Linked DNA regions of Homo sapiens: region 2 is linked to region 1. Evidence: promoter capture Hi-C in 16 types of primary human blood cells and fetal thymus (Javierre and others, 2016). All regions are on one chromosome and are shown on one strand. Each heading gives the region's core, a stretch centred on a gene start or on the middle of the fragment in contact. The rest is flanking DNA. Distances are from core to core; before and after follow the strand shown. Region 1 holds the start of ABTB2 (ankyrin repeat and BTB domain containing 2). Region 2 overlaps CAPRIN1 (cell cycle associated protein 1).

Region 1 (2,822 bases), core at 106-2,605:
GATTTCTTGCCTACCCAGTCTGCCAGTCCGAGGCCCGCGCGCTTACCATTGGCGTTCTTGCCGCAGATGAGATGCTCATAGGGCTGCAAGACGCCCCAGAGCTCGGCGTCGTTGTTGATGACCATCTCCAGGGCCTCAGCAGACACCTCCCCGCCTCCGGCCCCTCCGCCATCAGGGCTGTGGCTGGCCATCACCCTGGCCCGGATCTCCTCCACCAGGTTCTCCATGCAGGCGGTGAGGGAGATGGCTGCGTACTCGTGGATGCGCACGGAGATTCGGGTGTCCACCATCCAGCGGAAAAAGCGACCCACTGAGAAGGTGAGGCCGCAGCGCGCGGACTTGCCCCGGCGCAGCCCGTCGCCGGCGCTCATGCTGTACAGGGACAGCGCCTTGACGGCTGCCAGCGCGCAGCTCTCGGCCAGCGCCCAGCTGTGCACCAGGCGCACGGCGCTCTGCACCTCAAAGCGGGTGCACTTGGCGTGCAGCACGCTCAGGCGCTGCGCCTCGCGGGCCACGCGGATCAGTGCCCTGCGGAGCAGCCCGGCCAGGCGCCTCACCGCCTCGGCGGAGAACTGGGGCAGCCGCCGGCCGCCAGCGCCTTTGCGGAGCACCCGGGCCACGTCTCCTTCGGTCCAGGGGAACTCCTCCAGCTCGGGGAGCCGCGGACAGCGCGAGAAGAGGTCGGCCACTTCGGGGTCCTCGGGCAGCACCGTGTTCACCGTGTCCCAGCTGTTGTGGCGGCTGTTCATGGAGCCGGAGTAGCACCACCAGGCCGCCCCGCGGTGCTGCTGCGCCGAAGAGTTGAGCGCCTGCGAGTTGGACTTGGAGGACGAGAGGCTGAGCGAGCGGCACGAGTCCCCGGCCCCATACCCGGAGTCCAAGGTCAAGTCCTCCAGCGTCTTCAGAGTCGAGCTGTACGTCCCGGCCATGGGGAGCCTGCCGAGGGCGGCGTCGCCGAGCGAGGGGCACTCACAACTCCATGCCCTCTTTCCCAAGTGGGCAGAAACAAGCTCTAGGCCCTCCGGGCCACCCTCCTTCCTCTCTGCGTCGCGGGGCTCGGCGGCCGCATTGCCTGCCCGGAGGCCGCGGGAAGGTGGCCGAGATCCGTGGCCAGCAGGAGCCCCACGCTCCCGGCGTCCCGACTCGCAGCTGCCACTGGAAAGAACCCCGTCGCTACCCCCCGGCACTCCCCCTTGTCCACCTCTAATTCCCACAAGCAGAGAGTCAGTCCTCCACAGAGAAGGAATCCCGGGAGAACAGGGCGGCGGCGGCAGAAGGAGGAGGCGGCGGCGCAGGGCGCAGGGCGCAGCGCGAGTCCGGGACCAGCCGGCGAGAAAGCGCTCTGCAAACTTCTGCGCTGCGCCGGCCGGCAGCACAGCTGGGTACCCGGCTGCGTCCGACATGCAAATAACCCCGGGCGGCTTACCAATCACCGGCCGCGATGGGCGGGGCTGCACCAATGATCTCCGAGGGGGCGGTCACTATGCAGATTTCACTCTGCCTCGGGTTAAACCCCGCGGCGAAGGAGGCGGGGCTGGAGGCCGAGGGTCGGGCACGCGGCTGGGATGGGGGTGGGGATGGGGGGGGATGGGGGGGATGGGGGGGTGGGGGAAGGGCGAGCCAGCCAACTGGGAGGTGGAGGTGGAGACCGGAAAGCAGCGGTCGAAACGATAGCTCCGGAGCTCACGATTTAAAGAAAAATGCAAAGGAAAAGCTACAGGGCGCTGCCACCTTCCCGCCACCCAGGCTTTGGGCGTTCGCTGCTCGCTTTCGAGCCCTCCGCAGCCAGGCGTCCTGGGGTTGGGGCCAGGAGAATGGGGAGGGCCCCATCCAGGCGCTCCACCTCTCCTCCACCTTCCGCCAGGCCCCTCCCGCAATCCGAGATGAAACGCTGGCTGTGTTTGGAGGGAGGAGGGAGTCCCTGCCTCTCTTTCCAAGTCCGTCTGGTTCCTTTGCGCTGCCGTCTAGGCTCCAATAAGGACAGAATTTCTTAACCTGGTATCTGATCAATGGACGGGCCCCAGGAAGCCTGTGAGTGCCTCCGCCCATTTGTGGTTTCACCTGCAGTTTTCTGAGTGCCACTATGGGGAAGGGGCACCAACTTTTGTCAGATTCTCAAGAGGATCCGTGACTTCCCTGTTACCTCTGTGTGACGATACCACTTGCTGTCAGGTGGGTCCTTTTTGTCCGAGATAGACAGTGTTCTTACAGGAAGAATGAGAAGAAGGTGGCAGAGCAGTCCCTCGCCCTGGGCTGAGCTCGGAACACCTAGCTGGATGCAGGTGTTCGCCTCCTAACGCGTGCCGGTGGGCGAGCCGTATGCCCCCGCGGGACCCAGTTCCTCCGGGGTACAATGAGTGGCTGACCTCCAGGCAGCGCCAGTGCCAACCTGCCTCCGGGCGGGTGTCCCAAACGGTCCGCCAGAGCGCTGTTGGTTCAGCAGTCCCATGCCCGGTGCAGGCATGTCCCGCCGCTGCCCTGTGGCTACTCACACGCACGTGCGCAAACGGACCTGTGCCCCCTCCAGTGGAACCGCAGGCTCAAGGCGGGGATTGTGCATTCGCTCTCCCCAAGTCAGCCTCCCCCACTCCTGAATGGCTCCTTTGTGTTGCATTTTACACAGTTCTGACCTTGGGCCGTGAGTTGGATATGAACTAGAAATGTCTGGTTTGTCTCTTTCCTTCTTAAATTAATGGCCTTTACCCCCGGTGAAACTGCTTTTTATTTGGCAGTTTCGCTTAATTTTGCCTTTCCGCGGGTCTTTATTTATGCAACATCGCCGCCCGATGGTTAGAATTGGGAACAGAGTCAAAGATGGAAGT
Region 2 (2,822 bases), core at 146-2,645, 260 kb before region 1:
TTTGTCAAGTAAGGTCATAATTTGGCTAGTTACCATACCTGTCACGATAGTAATGTAGGTAGGGACGCTTTTATGTATTTGAGACAGGTTCTCACTTTGTTGCCCGGGCTGGAGTGCAGTGATGCCAGCATAACTCACTGCAGCCTCAAACTCCTGGGCTCAATGATCCTCCTCCCTCAGCCTCCTGAGTAGTTGGTAGTTGGGACTACAGGTGCTTACCGCCATGGCTGGCTAATTTTTTTTTTTTTTTTGTAGAGATAGGGTCTCCAGGAGCTCACTATGATGCCAGGCTGATCTCCAACTCCTTGCCTTGAGCGAACTTATTGTCTCTGTCTCCCAGAGTGGTGGGATTATGGGCATGAACTACCTTGTCTAGCTCGATAGAGATACTTTAGATTTTTTTTTATATATATATTTTTTTAAGAAATGGGGTCTCTGTCTGTTGCCCAGGTTGGAGTGCAGTGGTGTAATCAGATACTGGAGCCTTTAACTCTGGGGCTCAAATCCTGTACTGGAGCCTTTAACTCCCCACAAGTAGCTTGGACTGCAGGCTTTTCTCAAACTCAGGGCCTCCAGCAGTCCTCCCACCTCTACCTTATAGGCATGAGCCACCATGATGTCTTCTTTAGTTCTTTAATTCCTCAGAATTTAATTGGAATCCCACAACAAACCAGCAGTCAGAGGAGTTAATACTTTCATTTTGTCAGCCCGATTTTGAAAAGTTGTAAAATTTTCTAATTATTCAATTTCTTGGTAAACTTGGATCAGCATTAGATTTTTCAGTAGTAAATTCTTACACATCCTGTAGTATTCAGTATCACTAATATGAAGCTCGAATCTTCCATACTCTGATAGAAGTTATCAGTTATACTATGCTCAGCTTCCAAATGATAAAAACTAGTGGTGTGATCACCATGGCTCACTGTAACCTCTGCTTCTGGGTTCAAGGGATCCTCCTACCTCAGTCTCCCAAGTAGCACAGGCCACCATGCCTGGCTAATTTTTTTTTTTTTTGTATTTTTAGTAGAGAGAGGGTTTCACCATATTGTCCAGGCTGGTCTCGAACACCAGTCACATACGCAGCAAGTTCTCTTTAATCTCAGGGCCTTCATACTTACTTTCCTTCTTGCCGAAAACTTTCTCCCACTGATAAGTACATGGATTGCTTTTTCTATTTTTTTAAAAAAAGTTCATTTGTTTATTTTTAATTGAGAAGTAGAAACTATATATATGTGTATTTATGGTATACAGCATGATGTGTTGAAATGTGTGTCCGTTGTGGGCGGGCTTCATGGCTGGCACCTATAATCCCAGCTACATTTGAGGCTGAGGTGGCAGGATTGCTTGAGGCCAGGCGTTCATGATGAAATAATATGTATACATTGTGGGCCGTTGTCCAGTGCAGTGATGCAGTCTCGGCTCACTGCAACCTCCGCCTCTTAGGTTCAATCGCTTGGGTTCAAGCGATTCTCCTGCCTCGGCCTCCTGCCTCAGGCCTCAGGTGATCCACCCGCCTCGGCCTTCCAAAGTGCTGGGATTACAGGCGTGAGCCACCATTCCCGGCCTGATATTTGTTGAAGAAATCATTTCAGTATGTCCCATCATTTTAGAAATTTTATTTTGAATTAGTGTCTAATCAGGAACAACATGACAGAATCTTTGGCTTTTTAAAATGGCCTACAAGTTTATACTTTACCAAAATTTAAGTAGGAATTTGGGTATTTTAAAATAAAATGAAGGCTGGGTGTGGTGGCTCACGCCTGTAATCCCAGCTCTTTGGGAGGCCCACTTGAGACCAGGAGTTTGAGACCAGCCTGGGCAACACAGAGCCCCACCTCTATAAAATAAATACAGAAATTAGCAGGGTGAGGTGGTGAATGCCTGTAGTTGTAGCTACTCAGGAGGCTAAGGCCGGAGGATCACTTGAGCCCAGGAGTTCAAGGTTGCAGTGAGCCAAGATTATTTGACTGAACTCCAACCTCAGCAGTACTGGGTGAGAGAGCTAGACCTTGTCTTAAAAGTGAAAATTAAATAAAATAAAGATCACACTTAAGTTATTATGCTGTGAGTTTCTTCCTTTCTTTCCTTTCCTTTTTCCTTTCATTTTTTGAGACAGAGTCTTGCTCTTGTCTCCCAGGCTGGAGTGCAGTGGTACGATCTCGGCTCACTACAACTTCTTCCTTCCAGGCTTAAGCCATCCTCTCACCTCAGCCTCCCAAGTAGCTGGGACCACAGGCATGCACCACCATGCCTGGCTAATTTTTTGTATTTTGTTGTTGTTGTTGTTGTTGAGATGGGGTCTCACTGTGTTGCCCAGCTGGTCTCAAACTCCTGAGCTCAAGTAATCTGCTCAGCTTGGCCTCCCAAAGTGCTGGGATTACCAGTGTGAGCCACTACACCCAGCCTGGCTATGAATTTCTTACAGTGAGATTTGATCAAGATTAAAAGCTGTTATTGATAAAATGATTCTAAAATTCAGTTCTTTTGGCTACTTTGTACATGGATACACATGAACCATTTTACAAGGAAAATGTTATGTGTATTTGTCATTCACTTACAATTTTAAATTTTGGGAATATAATAAAAGGCAATCTATGTAAAAAGATGACACCGATGTAGTTGGTTTACTAAGTAATTCAAGAGGAGCAGTGGCTCTCTCTTTTTCTCTAGGTATTCCCTAGTGCTTTCATCGTAAAATAGGATTCTAACAACTATTAATGTATTTGGAGTTTCTTAAGGGTGTAAAATAGGTCAAGTAAAGATTTTCAAGAGTCATACAGCTGCTTTTCTCTCTGCCCCAAAAGGGGAGATTTGGGTTGGCC

Evidence for each region. Contacts are between HindIII fragments. The CHiCAGO score rates a contact against its expected background, and 5 or more counts as called.
Region 2: a contact is called between a fragment that was not itself captured here and the fragment with the promoter of ABTB2 in region 1, in 2 of 17 cell types (M2 macrophages and megakaryocytes). The highest score is 5.7, in M2 macrophages.

Annotation. Positions count from the first base shown.
Region 1 is chr11:34,356,655-34,359,476 of GRCh38, forward strand. It overlaps ABTB2 (ankyrin repeat and BTB domain containing 2), which reads right to left and starts at 1,356. Exons shown (of 17, transcript NM_145804.3): 1 at 47-1,356. The coding sequence starts at 929. RefSeq lists an enhancer at 282-391 and a silencer at 1,342-1,541. The HindIII fragment of the contact is 9,392 bases long and covers 1-2,822 here.
Region 2 is chr11:34,092,791-34,095,612 of GRCh38, forward strand. All of the region lies in intron 15 of CAPRIN1 (cell cycle associated protein 1), which reads left to right. Among named protein-coding and RNA genes, the nearest start is that of NAT10, 11 kb to the right of the region's middle. The HindIII fragment of the contact is 6,491 bases long and covers 1-2,822 here.